Regions from separate parts of the Homo sapiens genome. Here regions 1, 2, 3 and 4 are each linked to region 5. The links are contacts of gene promoters, found by promoter capture Hi-C in human tissues and cell types (Jung and others, 2019). All regions are on one chromosome and are shown on one strand. Each heading gives the region's core, a stretch centred on a gene start or on the middle of the fragment in contact. The rest is flanking DNA. Distances are from core to core; before and after follow the strand shown. Region 1 has its middle 21 kb from the start of LINC00367. Region 2 holds the start of XPO4 (exportin 4). Region 3 overlaps ZMYM2 (zinc finger MYM-type containing 2). Region 4 overlaps XPO4 (exportin 4). Region 5 holds the start of IFT88 (intraflagellar transport 88).

What was found. Contacts are between HindIII fragments. The study calls those that stand out against the background at their distance.
Region 1: a fragment that was not itself captured here is called in contact with the fragment with the promoter of IFT88 in region 5 in 1 of the 25 tissues and cell types used here (mesenchymal stem cells).
Region 2: the fragment with the promoter of XPO4 here is called in contact with the fragment with the promoter of IFT88 in region 5 in 1 of the 25 tissues and cell types used here (mesenchymal stem cells).
Region 3: a fragment that was not itself captured here is called in contact with the fragment with the promoter of IFT88 in region 5 in 3 of the 25 tissues and cell types used here (hippocampus, mesenchymal stem cells and stomach).
Region 4: a fragment that was not itself captured here is called in contact with the fragment with the promoter of IFT88 in region 5 in 2 of the 25 tissues and cell types used here (lymphoblastoid cells and spleen).

Annotation. Positions count from the first base shown.
Region 1 is chr13:20,926,528-20,929,403 of GRCh38, forward strand. No RefSeq gene overlaps it. Among named protein-coding and RNA genes, the nearest start is that of LINC00367, 21 kb to the right of the region's middle. The HindIII fragment of the contact is 5,494 bases long and covers 1-2,876 here.
Region 2 is chr13:20,901,362-20,904,061 of GRCh38, forward strand. XPO4 (exportin 4) reads right to left here and starts at 1,385. Exons shown (of 23, transcript NM_022459.5): 1 at 1,309-1,385. The coding sequence starts at 1,377. RefSeq lists an enhancer at 1,148-1,197 and a silencer at 1,408-1,787. The HindIII fragment of the contact is 40,685 bases long and covers 1-2,700 here.
Region 3 is chr13:20,076,378-20,079,254 of GRCh38, forward strand. All of the region lies in intron 21 of ZMYM2 (zinc finger MYM-type containing 2), which reads left to right. Among named protein-coding and RNA genes, the nearest start is that of LINC01072, 25 kb to the right of the region's middle. The HindIII fragment of the contact is 4,922 bases long and covers 1-2,877 here.
Region 4 is chr13:20,842,036-20,844,735 of GRCh38, forward strand. It overlaps XPO4 (exportin 4), which reads right to left. Exons shown (of 23, transcript NM_022459.5): 5 at 1,735-1,851; 6 at 860-1,013. Among named protein-coding and RNA genes, the nearest start is that of XPO4, 59 kb to the right of the region's middle. The HindIII fragment of the contact is 4,157 bases long and covers 1-2,700 here.
Region 5 is chr13:20,565,795-20,568,494 of GRCh38, forward strand. IFT88 (intraflagellar transport 88) reads left to right here and starts at 1,363. Exons shown (of 26, transcript NM_006531.5): 1 at 1,363-1,462. LOC105370103 (a long non-coding RNA gene) reads right to left here and starts at 1,235. Exons shown (of 6, transcript XR_941725.3): 1 at 882-1,235. RefSeq lists silencers at 1,063-1,472, 1,568-1,756. The HindIII fragment of the contact is 1,600 bases long and covers 3-1,602 here.

The sequences.
Region 1 (2,876 bases), core at 330-2,829, 360 kb after region 5:
CAGGAGGATTACTTGAGGTCAGGAGTTTGAGACCATCCTGGACAACATAGTAAGATCCCATCTCTAGCAAAAAATGTGAAAATTAGCCAGGCACGATGGTGCAGCTGTAGTCCTAACTACTCAGGAGGTTGAGGTGAGCCCAAGATATTGAGGCTACAGTTAGCTATGATTGCACCACTATACTCTAGCTTAGGTGACAGGAAGACAGTGTCTCTTTAAAAAAATGAATAATAGGCTGGGCATGGCTCACACCTGTAATCCCAGCACTTTGGGAGACTGAGGCGGGCGGACCACCCAAGGTCGGGAGTTCGAGACCAGTCTGACCAACATGGAGAAACCCTGTCTCTACTAAAAAAAATACAAAATTAGCTGGGCATGGTGGTGCAATCCTAGCTACTTGGGAGGCTGAAGCAGGAGAATCGCTTGAACCTGGGAGGCAGAGGTTGCAGTGAGTAGAGATCATGCCATTGCACTCCAGCCTGGGCAACAAGAGCGAAACTCCGTCTCAAAAAAAAAAAAATTAAAATAATAATGTATGTGTGTTTTCTTGGTTGTTGTTGTTTTAAGACAGGATCTCACTCTGTTGCCCAGGCTGGAGTACAATCTCGTTGCCAGGCTGGGGCACAATCTCGGCTCACTGCAACCTCTACCTCCTGGGCTCAAACAATCCTCACCTCAGTCTTCCCACTAGCTGGGACCACAGGTGTGCACCACCATGACCAGCTAACTTTTTTTTTCTTTTTTTGAGACAAGAGTCTTGCTCTGTCACCCAGGCTGGAGTACAGTGGTGCGATCTCAACTCACTGCAGCATCCGCCTCCTGGGTTCATATGATTCTCGTGCTTCAGCCTCCTGGGTAGCTGGGACTATGGGTGTGCGCCACCGCGCCTGGCTAATTTTTGAACTTTTAGTAAAGACAGGGTTTCACTGTGCTGACCAGGATGGTCTCGATCTCCTGACTGCGTGATCCACCCACCTCGGCCTCACAAGGTCCTGGGATTACAGGCGTGAGCCACCGCACCTGGCCAATTTTTTGTATTTTTTTTTTTTTGTAGAGATGGGGTTTCACCATGTTGCCCAGGCTGGTCTCCTGAGCTCCAGTGATCCGTACACTTTGGCCTCCCAAAGTGCTGGGATTGCAGGCATGAGCCACCATGCCCGGCCTAAAATAATAATGTTTTGAGGGAAATTTCTTTAAATTATTTTTATCTTTAGCACCAGTTATTGAGTTCCTCATTTGCTCACTTTCTCTACTGGAACTGAGAAGCTGGGGTTTACTAAATCTATGCCTTGACAATACCAATTCAAACTCTTTTCAGTTCACTAAGATAAGGAACAAGATCCCCACGTGGAGAAATAAAGCACAATCATCAAAGACAAATTGTAAACATCATTGAAACTTACACAAGAAAATGTCACATAACATTAGCTTCTTCTTCAGACTTTGAAAAAACAATCACTTGTTGTTAAAATTTTTTTAATCACATGAAAAATTTAAAATTTAATTAAATTTAAAAATTTAAATTTAAAAAATATTTAAAATTTAATTAAATTTAAAAACTACTTAAAATTAATTAAATTTAAAATGTAATTAAAAATTTAAAAATCACATTGATTCCTATAGCACTTGAAATCTCTGATTGTCCAAGGACTAAACGTTATAAGGCTTTTTGATGAGCTAAGGAAATTTTTCTCTTTTATTTTTCCTAAATATCATTTACATCTATAAATGATGAGGTAAAAGTGTGAGATTGATTCCCTGCCCTGCGCTGCCCTGAGACAGGGTCTCGCTCTGTCGCTCAGGATAGAGTGCAGTGATGCGATCATAGTTCACTGCAGCCTCAACCTCTTGGGTGCAAGCAATCCTCCTACTTCAGCCTCTTGAGTAGCTGGGACCATAGGTGTGTGCCACCACACCTGGTTAATTTTTAAAAATATTTTTTATAGAGATGGGGTCTCCCTACATTGCCCAGGCTGGTCTTGAATTCCTGGGCTCAGTTGATCCTCCCACCTCAGCTTCCCAAAGTGCTGGGATTACAGGTGTGAGCCACCACACCTGGCCTAAACTTATAAAGTTTTAAAAATATATTTGACCTACTAAAATTTACTTATGTATTTATTTTATTTTATTTTATTTTATTTTTTTGAGACAGAATCTGGCTCTGTTGCCCAGGCTGGAGTGCAGTGGCGTGATCTCGGCTCACTGCAAACTCCGCCTCCCCAGTTCAAGCGATTCTCCTGCTTCAGCCTCCCGAGTAGTTGGGATTACAGGTGCCCACCACCATGCCTGGCTAATTTTTTTGTATTTAGTAGAGATGGGGTTTCACCATGTTGGCCAGGTTGGTCTCGAACTCCTTACCTCAGATGATCCGCCCACCTTGGCCTCCCAAAGTCCTGGGATTACAGGCATGAGCCACCATGCCTGGCCTGTATTTTATTTTTTTGAGACAGAGTTTCACTCTGTCTCCCAGGCTGGAGTGCAGTGGCATGATCTCGGCTCATGGCAACCTCTGCCTCCCAGGTTCAAGTGATTCTCCTGCCTCAGCCTCCTGAGTAGCTGGGATTACAGGTGCGTACCACCACACCCAGCTAATTTTTGTATTTTTAGCAGGTACAGGATTTCGTCATGTTGGCCAGGCTGGTCTTGAATTCCTGACCTCAAGCAATCTGCCCACCTCAACCTCCCAAATTGATGGGCTTACAGGCGTGAGCCACCGCACCCATAGACCTACTAAAATTTAGAGTAGAAGATTCCAGTTAGCACAATAATTACCCTTTCTGCCTGACTGGATGCTTCAAAATAATTAACACATTAATTTTGTAGAGACAACTTTAGAACATGGTGACATTTTAAAAGCTGAAAAATGTTCACATAGA
Region 2 (2,700 bases), core at 135-2,634, 340 kb after region 5:
TGTTTTGGGTGGCATACTCCTTCCAGAATCCAATGAAAACGGAGCCCCTAGCTCCTAGGAAAATTTCAGGAATTTTACAAAACGCTCTATGTCAGGGATTTTTAAGAATCTTTTATTAAGGGGAATACTAGCTAGTTACTTCTGCTTAATTTGCAAAAGTGTGAAAACCTTCACTAGTCTGTTTTGTGACAAAACGTACATTAAGTTAATATTCATAATGAAGCAAGTAAATCCTGCTTTTATTAGACTTCTCGATTTCTAAAGAAACAAAAATATCTGGTGTAAAATATTAGAACTACAAACTACGCTAGAATTAGTTCGAATATTCTCAAATGTGATGCTCAAACACCCTAACACCAAACCAAAAGGAAAAAAGTCCAAAAAGGTAACAAAGCTGGCTGTATCCAATTCTTAGAAAGTCTGAATCAATCCAGGTATCAAATGAACCTCTAACTTCCCAAAACATCTACAAACACCGAAGTCATAATTTGCAAAAACAAAGCTGAGCCAGCAAATAGAAACACTGTTTACTAACTGAACGTAGTTTATCCTTACTTCTCCTCCTTGCATGTAATACTTTTATCCTTTGACTCGGCCTTCTCAAATTCCCTTAGTAAACAATCTCATCAAACTGCTTATTGTAGTGTAAGCATGAAGTCAAAGAGTAGCATAGACTCAGTTCTCCAAATCGCGGGAGCTTTAAGGAGCTTAGCACTAGACCAAGTTTTGCCCCAATGACCTTGGTCTCAACGATTCCCCTCCCTCCCTCCAGCCGGCCCGGCCCTTCCACGTGCTGCCGGCTGCAATTACTCCAGAGGTGGCTGCATGTCAGGGAAGCGCTAGAGGATGCGAATGCACAGGAAACAAGGGTTGCTAACAGCACCCAGGCTGTGCCATCCAATCCCTCCCGACACCAACTCCCCAAGAGCGCTCACACAGCCCTACAAATTTCCCCTACCGAAGCCCTGCGGGGATAACCCCAACTCCTTCCCGGCGCCTTGCTCTGCGACCCAGTCTGTGGGGCAGGGTGTAAGGTGAAGAAATTCTCTTTGCTACACCACTATATTCCCACGCCCGACTGGGGTGCTGGGCAGCCAGGGGAAGGGGACAGCTCCTGGAAGGAGGGGACGACGGCAGGAGGAAAGTAGGCTGAAGAATCCTGCGCCACGCCACCGCCACCTCCTCCTCCACTTCCAGGCTCCCTGCAGGCCCTTGCCAGTCGCCAGCCCAGCGAGCAGCAAGGCCTGGAGTGGCAGGGCCGACCGGGGGCCCGCGAATCCCGGGGTCTGAGGGGCGCGGCGTCCTCACCATCAGAACTTTAGCCGCGTTCTCCAGCTGAGCGATCACTTCTGGGGGCCCCAGCGCCGCCGCCATCATGGTCTCTCTTCAATGACGCGCCATGCGCTGCATTCTGGGAGCGGGCGCCGCGGCCGGCCAATCGCCGCCGCGACCCCGGAGCCTCACGCGCTCCCAGGGCCGTCGCAGCCGCTGTCGACACCGGCGTCGCGGCCTCGGCGGGTCTGGCCGGGCTGCCGGGTTCCGGGTGGCTGGGAGGGGACTAGTGTGAGCCCGGCCGCCGCGCTGGGGCGGGGGCGGCCGCAGCCGGCACCGGGCGAGGCCGAGGCGGTCTGCCCAGACTGCTGCAGCCGCGCGCCCCGCTAAGCTCCCAGCCCCGCGCATGCGTGGTGTCCGGCGCCCCGGCCTCGCGGTGCCCCCGGCCCTCTCCCCACTACCCTAGTACAGCCCGCCCGGGGACCCGCAGATCCACGACGCCAGTTCGCTCCCTCCGTTCTCAGCCCTGCACACCGCCTCCCCTGGCTCCTCCTTGCCCTTCCACGCTCCAGCGCCGTGCAGGATTTCCTAAACTTGGAATCGCTCTTCCCGCTTTCCCCTCCTCAGAGCGCACCTCCTTTCAAAGTATCTCTGTCTCCTGCTTCTCTGTTCCTTCTTGCCATGGGAGAACATTCCAGGATAGAACGCTTCGTTTTCTTTCTTTCTTTTTTTTTTTTTTTGGAGACAGGGTCTCACTCTATCGCCCAGGATGGAGTGCAATGGCCCTATTTCGGCTCACTGCAACCTCCGTCTCCCGGGTTCAAGCGATTCCCCTGCCTCAGCCTCCTGAGTATCTGGGATTACAGGCGCCCGCCACCACGCCCGGCTAATTTTTGTACTTTTAGTAGAGACGAAGTTTCACCATGTTGGCCAGGCTGGTCTCGAACTCCTGACCTCAGGTGATCCGCCCGCCTCGGTCTCCCAAAGTTCTGGGATTACAGGCGTGAGCCACCGCCCCCGGCCGAACGCTTCGTTTTCATAATGGAGGGCTTTGGCCTTCTGCAGGACAATCATCCAAATGTATCTGGGCAGCGGGTCGCTAGGAGACCCTAGGAGGAAAACCCGTCTTTGGCTCTTGCCGTTTTCACTCTTTAAGGGCTGGCTCACATAGGAGAGGGAGAAAGCAGGGACAGGAAAGCCTGACCTTGACTACCTGGCTTCTCAAATGCAGTAAGATGAGCTTTGTCGGCCAGGCGCTGTGGCTCATGCCTGTAATCCCAGCACTTTGGGAGGCCAAGGCAGGCCTCATTTTAGCTCAGGAGTTCGAGACCAGCCTGGGCAACATCGTGAGACCCTGTCTCTACCAAAAAAAAAAAAAAAAAAAGCCCGGTGTGGTGTCTTGCGCCTGTGGTCCGAGCTTCTCGGGAG
Region 3 (2,877 bases), core at 10-2,509, 490 kb before region 5:
CTGAGATATGATTCCAGAAGGGGTATTATTGGATCTCAAGAAAAGTATATTTTTTATTTTTAAAGATATTAACAGATTTCTTTCCCAAAATGTTTGAGGATCTTTTTGTGTTTATTGACCATTTGCTTTTCTGTGAATTGCCCCATCGTTTATCTTTTTTAGTTTGTGAGTTTCTTGTTTATTATAGACAGTAAGTCTTTGTCATTTTTCCAAATTTTTCTCCAGAATTTTTATTTTTTACTTTCTACATGTTAAGTCTTTTATATGGAGGGATGTGTTTTTTAAGAAGAAAGAACTTTATTTACTAAATTAAAAAATATAGTAAACTCACAGTGTGGCTTGTTAATTTAATTTGTATGTAAATGGGTAGTTTTCAAATAATTAAATTCTATTAAAATACATAGAGGATTTCTAAGCTTATTTAATCCTTATTCAGAGGAATTTAAGATTTATTTTTTATTTTATTTTATTTTTTTTGAGACGGAGTTTCACTCTGTCACCCAGGCTGGAGTGCAGTGGTGCGATCTCGGCACACCGCATCTCCGCCTCCCAGGTTCAAGTGATTCTCCTGCCTCAGCCTCCCGAGTACCTGGGACTACAGGCCACCATGCCCAGCTAATTTTTGTGTTTTTAGTAGAGACAGGGTTTCACCGTGTTGGCCAGGTTTGTCTCGTTCTCTTGATTACAGGCGTGAGCCACCACGCCTGGCCTCTTTATTTTTTAATAGCAGTGATGAGGTTGATTCAGGCTATTTGAAACCTTCTTTCATTGGTTAATTTAGCAAACATTAAGTGCTGTTGTATGCTGGATACTGGACATTGGAGTAGGCTTTGGAGACTGAGATAAGCATGTTGACAACTTACATTTACTGACTGTTTACTGCTTTCCACATACTATGCTACGTGCTTGATGTGTCATTCAGTCCTCTCAACAACTTTACTATAATTATCAGCATTTTTTTATGAGGAAGTAAAGTTACTTGCCCAAGTTACACAGCTCATAAATTTTGAATCTGGTGAGCAGTTTGAATTAAAAGCCATTACAATATGTTCCACTGAAAGAGTTGAAATACACAGACAAATAATATTTAAATAATGTTATGCTCGTGTTGTATACAGACTTGGTAACACAGAATTGGGACTAATTAATTCTACCTAAGTATATACAATGAAAAAGTATAGGAATTTAGATGACATTGAGTTTTAAATTTTAAATTGAGTTTTGAAGTACATATAGAAATTTATTCAGCAAAGGGATGAGAGAGGGACAATGGCAGTACAAGGGCACAGTTTACCAGGAACTACTTAGCCTGGCTGGAATGTATAATGTGAAGTGGAGAAAGCTTTGGGGTATTGAGGCTGAGGGCTGCGGTAAGTAAGAGTCATACCACAAAGGCCTCTATTCCTTGATAAAATGTTTAGATTTCATCTTTATCCAGGGAGAAACATGAAAAGGTTTTAAGTTTTTTTCTTTTTTTTTTTTTGAGAGGGAGTCTTGCTCTGTCACCCAGGCTGGAGTGCAGTGGTGTGATCTGGGTTCACGCCATTCTCCTGCCTCAGCCTCCCGAATAGCTGGGACTACAGGCGCCCGCCACCACGCCCGGCTAATTTTTTGTATTTTTAGTAGAGACGGGGTTTCACTGTGTTAGCCAGGATGGTCTCGATCTCCTGACCTCATGATCCACCCGCCTCGGCCTCCCACAGTGCTGGGATTACAGACGTGAGCCCCACTGCACCTGGCCAGTTTTAAGTATTTTTAAAGATGATACTTGAAATTTTTTTTTTCTTGGGCGTAGCATCTGAAAGCTGGAATATTTTCATTGAAACACAAATTATTGTGCAGAACTACTGATTGATAGCTTAAATTAATGGTGGATTATTTTATATTATTATTAATGAAGCTTTATTCATATAACGTTTAATAAAACAACTGATTTGAGAGACTTAGAAGTAGAATCTATCTAATAGCCCTCAAATTATGAATGTCTTATATTCCCAATATTTAATTTTATAAATTGTTATGTATATTGTTTGCACACAGTGTTTCTTGCTTTAGCTAGCTCTCCGAAACATTTGACCATATGTTTGTCATATTAGTGACAATACTTGTCTGAACAAACATGCCAATAGTCTGAACATATCTAAAATACATGCTTTTCAACTCTCTGTTAGCTGTGTTTTATGAGATTTTCATTTTGCTTCTCAAGTACTAGTACCATAATTTCTGTTTAAGTAGATATCTGTCAACGTGCTGCTTTGCCCTACAAAGCATTTTTTATCCATAAGAAACAGGGCCTTTGAAATGTGGGTAGTCTGAAATGAGAAGTGTTCTGAGTATAAAATATATACAAGATTTCAAAGAATTGGTATTTTTAAAATGTTAAATATTTTTATATTATATGTTGGGATTACATGTTTTGGATATATTGGGTTAAGTAAAATATTATACTTTTTAACTTTTAAAATGTGGCTACTAGAATAAAGTTAAATGTATAACATGTTACATTTTTATCATTCAGTACTGCTCTTTACAGATGTTCCAAAATTATTTAGGGAACTCTAGTTTTCTCATGTATAGTCCCAAAGAAATCTAAGTGAAATGAGAGACCAGTAACTCTTAAAAAAGGAATTTATATTTAAAAAAAAAAAAGATACTTTTATTGGCTGGGCGCGGTGTCTCATGCCTGTAATCCCAGCACTTTGGGAGGCTGAGGCAGGCAGATCACAACGTCAAGAGATGGAGACCATCCTGGCCAACATAGTGAAACCCCGTCTCTACTAAAAATACAAAAATTAGCCGGGTGTGGTGGCACGTGCCTGTAATCTCAGCTACTCGGGAGGCTGAGGCAGGAGAATCGCTTGAACCCTGGAGGCAGAG
Region 4 (2,700 bases), core at 88-2,587, 280 kb after region 5:
AGCTCAATAAATAGTAACTAACTCCTGAGTGTTTTAAATGTATTGTTTCATTTAATTCACACAACAATCCATACCCCCATTTTACATTTGGAAAAGCTGAGACTCAGAGAGGTTCAGGTGATTTGCCTAAGATGAGCAGAGCCTTGAATCCAGATCTATTGGACTTTACACAACAAATGGGTAGTCACTGTATATTACTATCAACGGGCAGCAGATGTCCCAGCATAGTAAATGAGACAGCAGTTCCTTAAAGTTTATGAAATACAAATTTCTCTACTTTAAGTAACTAATTTAAAAAGCAGATATATGCATTGATAATACAACCCACTTAAACTTTTGAATAATTTCCTAAAAACAAAATTCTCATTTTTTTATACTGGTAAAGGCCCTTGAAGAGTAAACATATTACTAACTTATTACCTATACTTGAACAACATCACCATCCATAAAGATTAAATTAGAGCACTCCAAACTAGCTTTAAGTCAGTCAAAAAAATCAAACATAATTACTTGTCCAAGGAAAAAATGATTCGGTTTCTTAAAAGGTAATTTCTACCTGTTTCCTTTTCCTTCCCAAAGAATAATGCTAATCCTGAATTAGCAACAGCTCCGTCATCCACCACGTTTCTATGTATTCAAACTTCTTCTACAAAGGAGTAAATACTTTTAAATCTTCTAGTATTATCCTAGTATCCACTGTCTTTTGGCATTATAAAGAAATTAAATTCTATTTCTTAAAAAAAATCTTATTTTCTTTCAATATGTTTTATGAAAGCTGCAGAGGTGAAAGACTCCGAGCTGTAATTAAGTCACCTATGAAAATTACCACAGATAAACTATTCATTTGTTAAAAGGATATAATTTGGAGGAAGAAAGTTCCAGCTCAAGACTTGATTGGCGAGTGCAAGGTAACGCTGAAATACTGAAGACATCTGAGCATTGAGGTTTTCCCGCCTGCTGAACTCCTGCAGAACTTCAACAGTTAACATGAAGATCTGACGAAGGTCTTCTTCCTATAGTCAATAAATCACAAATATTTTATATGAAAAATTTATTCAAAATGTATCCCCTTTTAGAATCATGAAACAAAACAAACACCTTAAAATTTCCAATGGAAAACACCATTTCCTTAAGAACGTGTTCCATTTTTAGGCCTCTACTTGTAATTTACATCGCAGTATGCTTTCAAGTGACGCCAGATGGAATACTTTTACTTGAATATAAATGCTACTTCCATAGAGAAGAGAGTCTTTGACAACTACTGCGGAGCCAGAGGAGTCAGTTGCTATAGTGCAGAGCCCTAGGATTTAAGCCAATGCCTTCACATAACTTTACTCCAGAGCCAAACAATACATACAAGACAAAGAGCCCGCACCATCTGCAATAACATTTGAAATACACGGCCTTCTGGCATTCTTCCAGACCTATTTTTAAGGCCAGCAGAGTCCCTTCAATTGAATTAGTTATATCTAAACACAATAAGAAATAAATAATAAACTAAAGATCTTTATAGAAGTATTGTTTTTAAGACTAGAATTAAACAAGTAATTTTAAACCATCAACTACATTCACCAAACCTATCATTTTACTATATCCTTTGAAATCACAAAACAAATCCTGAAGTACAGGCTACCATTCAACTACATAAAATAAATATTCTCATGTCATTAGGAATAGATTGAGTAAAAAGTGAATGATCCAATAATTAAAACTCAAGAACAAAACTACCAATACCTGAAAAACTCTTTTGCAGTTACCATGGAATTCCATGCTCAATCCAATGTTGCTAGTTTTACTTGAACTTGAAAATTCACTCAATAGCGCAGTCAGAATAGAACAGGCCAGAGTTTGCTGTAATTATTTGATAAGAAATAATTGTGAGGCATTACTGTTTCAACGCTTTGTTTCAATGCATTTGTTCAAACATAATAGAACATTTTCTCCCTAACTTTAGATCTTCCACTGTATCTTTAGATCTTATAACAACTAGTCAGAAAATCAGATATGACAAAATAAATATTAGCTCTCCTTTCTAAGTGGTCTGGTCAGTGTTAATAGTACTTCCTCAAATGCAGTTATACAAATCCATCTAAGACTTGAACTCAGGACACACTGTTCCTACTCAATAGTGGAATTCAAATGATATTTAAAAATAATAAATGTTGAAGGTATTATTTTGTTTAATTCGCAGAACAACCTATATCCTCATTTTACATTTGAGAGAAGTGACCTGGAGTACTTATCTAAGGCCAGCTGAGATTTCAACCCATGTTTGACCCCGTTCTGTTTGTAAAATGCATTCCCAAATAGATGAAAAGTGAAACAGATTTTATAGTGTCCAAAATATTATAGCCAGGTAATACCCAAAAGTTTTTTAAATAGAAAAATGAAGATTTTTCTTCTCATTGGTTCTATCCAACAGGCTCCTAATATCAACTCATTGATTTTATTCCCAGACTAAAACAGTCAAGGTACAAAGGATGGAAAGAGGATACAAATTATTTTGGCAACTTTCCAGGAGTTAAACAGAAATATGCACACTACCTCTGAACAACCGAAAGATTAAAGTCAAGATGATACTATTTATGCAAGCTTATCCAACAGCTGAACACTGTCATACCCACCCACCAACTGCAACATCTCTGTTCAGAAATGCTTCTGATGTCAGTACCTTGACCTTACAGATACTTATCTTGGCAA
Region 5 (2,700 bases), core at 113-2,612:
AATTTAACTGTTAATCACATCTTAAAAAATACCAGCTATCATAGTACTCCAGAACAAAGGCAGTCAGTGTCTCTGCTCACAAAACACGGGAAAGTGCAGGTGACCCATGGAGAATTGTCCCCCAACACTATGTTTTTTCTTTTTTTGGATGGAGTTTCGCTCTTGTCACCCAGGCTGGAGTGCAATACCACCATCTTGGCTCACTGCAACCTCTACCTCCTGGGTTCAAGAGATTCTCCTGCCTTAGCCTCCTGAGTAGCTGGGATTTATTACAGGCGCCTGCCACCTCGCCGGGCTAATTTTTGTATTTTTAGTAGAGACAGGGTTTCACCACGTTGGCCAGGCTGGTCTCCAACTCCTCACCTCAGGTGATCCGCCAGCCTCAGCCTCCCAAAGTGCTGGGATTATAGGCATGAGCCACTGCGCCCGGCCAACACTACTTATTTTATAAAAACTCATTAATTACTGGTGTCTTTAGACTCCCTCTGTCCCTCCCCTCCATCCCCAACATTTACTTTTAAAATTTAAGACAAAACTTAAACATTAAACAATTATGAATTTAATTCCCCCATTTATATTACATTGATTAAGCTTTACACTATGACCCAGGTTCTAGGTGGTTGGGACACAATGGTTCAATCCCTGTCTAGTAAATAAAACGGACACCTTAAGCGCTACAATCAAGGTGCGCACGGGGTGCTACAGAACAATACGCAGACAGGAGGAGGTGGGGGGAAAGGTGAGACTTCCCAGGCAGGTGTCATCCCAGAATAACTTTTACACAGGGTGACTAAGCGAGTTAGTGACTGCGCGGAAAACGGGCTTCCAAGGTTCACAAGGCTCGTGCTGCGGCTCCGGGAGTTATGTCACAGTAAGCTTACTATCATCCTTTGGGCATCTGCTTTACGGATGAGTTCATCAGGATTTAAAGGATCTTGGTTCCATATCCTTCCCCTTCCTCACAGAGGCCGCCAGCCCGGAGCCCCTCTAGGCCCTCCTCCCTCCTGCATCTACTGGCCGCGAGCCTTTCCCTCCCCGCCCCCTTCACACAGGCCGCCCCCAGCCTCCCAACCCCCCGGTTCCGTTCCACGGGAGGCCCCGGCCTCCCTGCCCTCTCCTCCACCGTTCTACCCGCATCGCCCGGCTTCCCGCAAGCCGCTGGCACCGTCCCCTCAACACCCTCCGCCCACCGCCACTCCCTTCCACTGAGGGGGACCGGGCTGCCTTCTCTCTGACCCGCCGTTCTCCGCCCCCACCCACTTCCCCAGGCCTCCCGCACCACCCCCTTCCCGCCGCGCTCTCTCCCGCCCCCGCGCTTCCGGCCCCGCCCGCCCCCGCGCGGAGGACTGTGGGAGCGGCTTCCTTGGATTCCGCGCTTGGCAACGGCTCGGCGTCGCGCTTTGGCCAACCGCTGCGTCGTCCCTGGGCCCGAATAACTGTCGCCCGCTTCCCTCAGCGTGAGGTAGGAGAAGGGCGCTGGGGCCTAGTGCCTCAGGGCCCCTGGCAGCCGTGCCCCTGCGGCGTCCTGTGTGGCGCATCCCGCCGAGGGCCTCTTCGCCCGTCTCCTGCCCGCCCCTGTCGGCCCCGGGGCGGTCTGAGGCGGGGCCCCAGATGGACTCGGCCTGCCCCTGCTTTTCTTCCTCAGGCTCCCGAGTTGTCTACTCAGAAACGCGGGCGTTGTTTCTCACATCGGTGTCCCCAGCTCACAGGCTTTTCTTGCTCCTCTGAACTGGGACGGGCGTCGCTGACCGCTTGGCGATGTCCCAAGTCCCAGTCACGCCTGACGGGGAAACTTAAAACCCAGTTAGATTACTGCGCCAGCTCTGGAATCGCACAGCAGAGATGGTGCACATCGCTCTTTAATTTTCTTGTTAGGTGAAGCACTTCAAATTGCCTGATGAAAGTTGAATCAGGAATGAAGATAAAAGTACACAACAATGCAGAAAGCGGTACTTAGCCTCACAAAGATGGAAACATTCCAAAAACGTGAAGTACTGTTGTCCCAAGATTCTTTCTAAGCCTAAAATTACACTTTTACTAGTCCGATTTTCTGGTTGTGAGTTTTTTTTGTTTGTTTTTTTTTTTTCGAGAAACTGCAGTAGGCTTCTTGGAAGTAGACCAAGGGTGTCCAATCTTTGGCTTCCCTGGGCCACATCGGAAGAAGAATTGTCTTGGGCCACACATGAAATTCACAAACACTAAGGTAGCCGATGAGCTTTAAAAAAAATCGCAAAAAAGAATCTCATAATGCTTCCAGAAAGTTTACGAATTTGTGTTGGGCCACATTCAAAGCCGTCCTGTGCCACGTGCGGGCCGGGGTTGGAAAAGCTTGAAGTAGACTGTCCATAGTCAGTAGAAGAGTATTAAAAAACATACCTTTCACTTAAAAAAAAAAAAGGTTTTGCCAGCATTTGATTTATATTAAACATAGGTGGCATCATCCCCAGATTATTTCAACATGGAAAAGTTTGTTACATGTATAAGCTGCTTTGGAAATTGCCTGGAGAATCCAGAAACCCTGGGTTGTATAACAACAGTTGTTCTGCCACCCATAGCTATTAGCCATGCTTGATTCCCTTCAACTTTCCTGGCCTCACTTTCCACATCTTTTAATATTTGTATGTTCCACAAGATGTCTATTCAACTAAAGTCTCAAGTCAAACCTTTTAAAAATCTGGTTACAACCTAGCAGAAAGGATT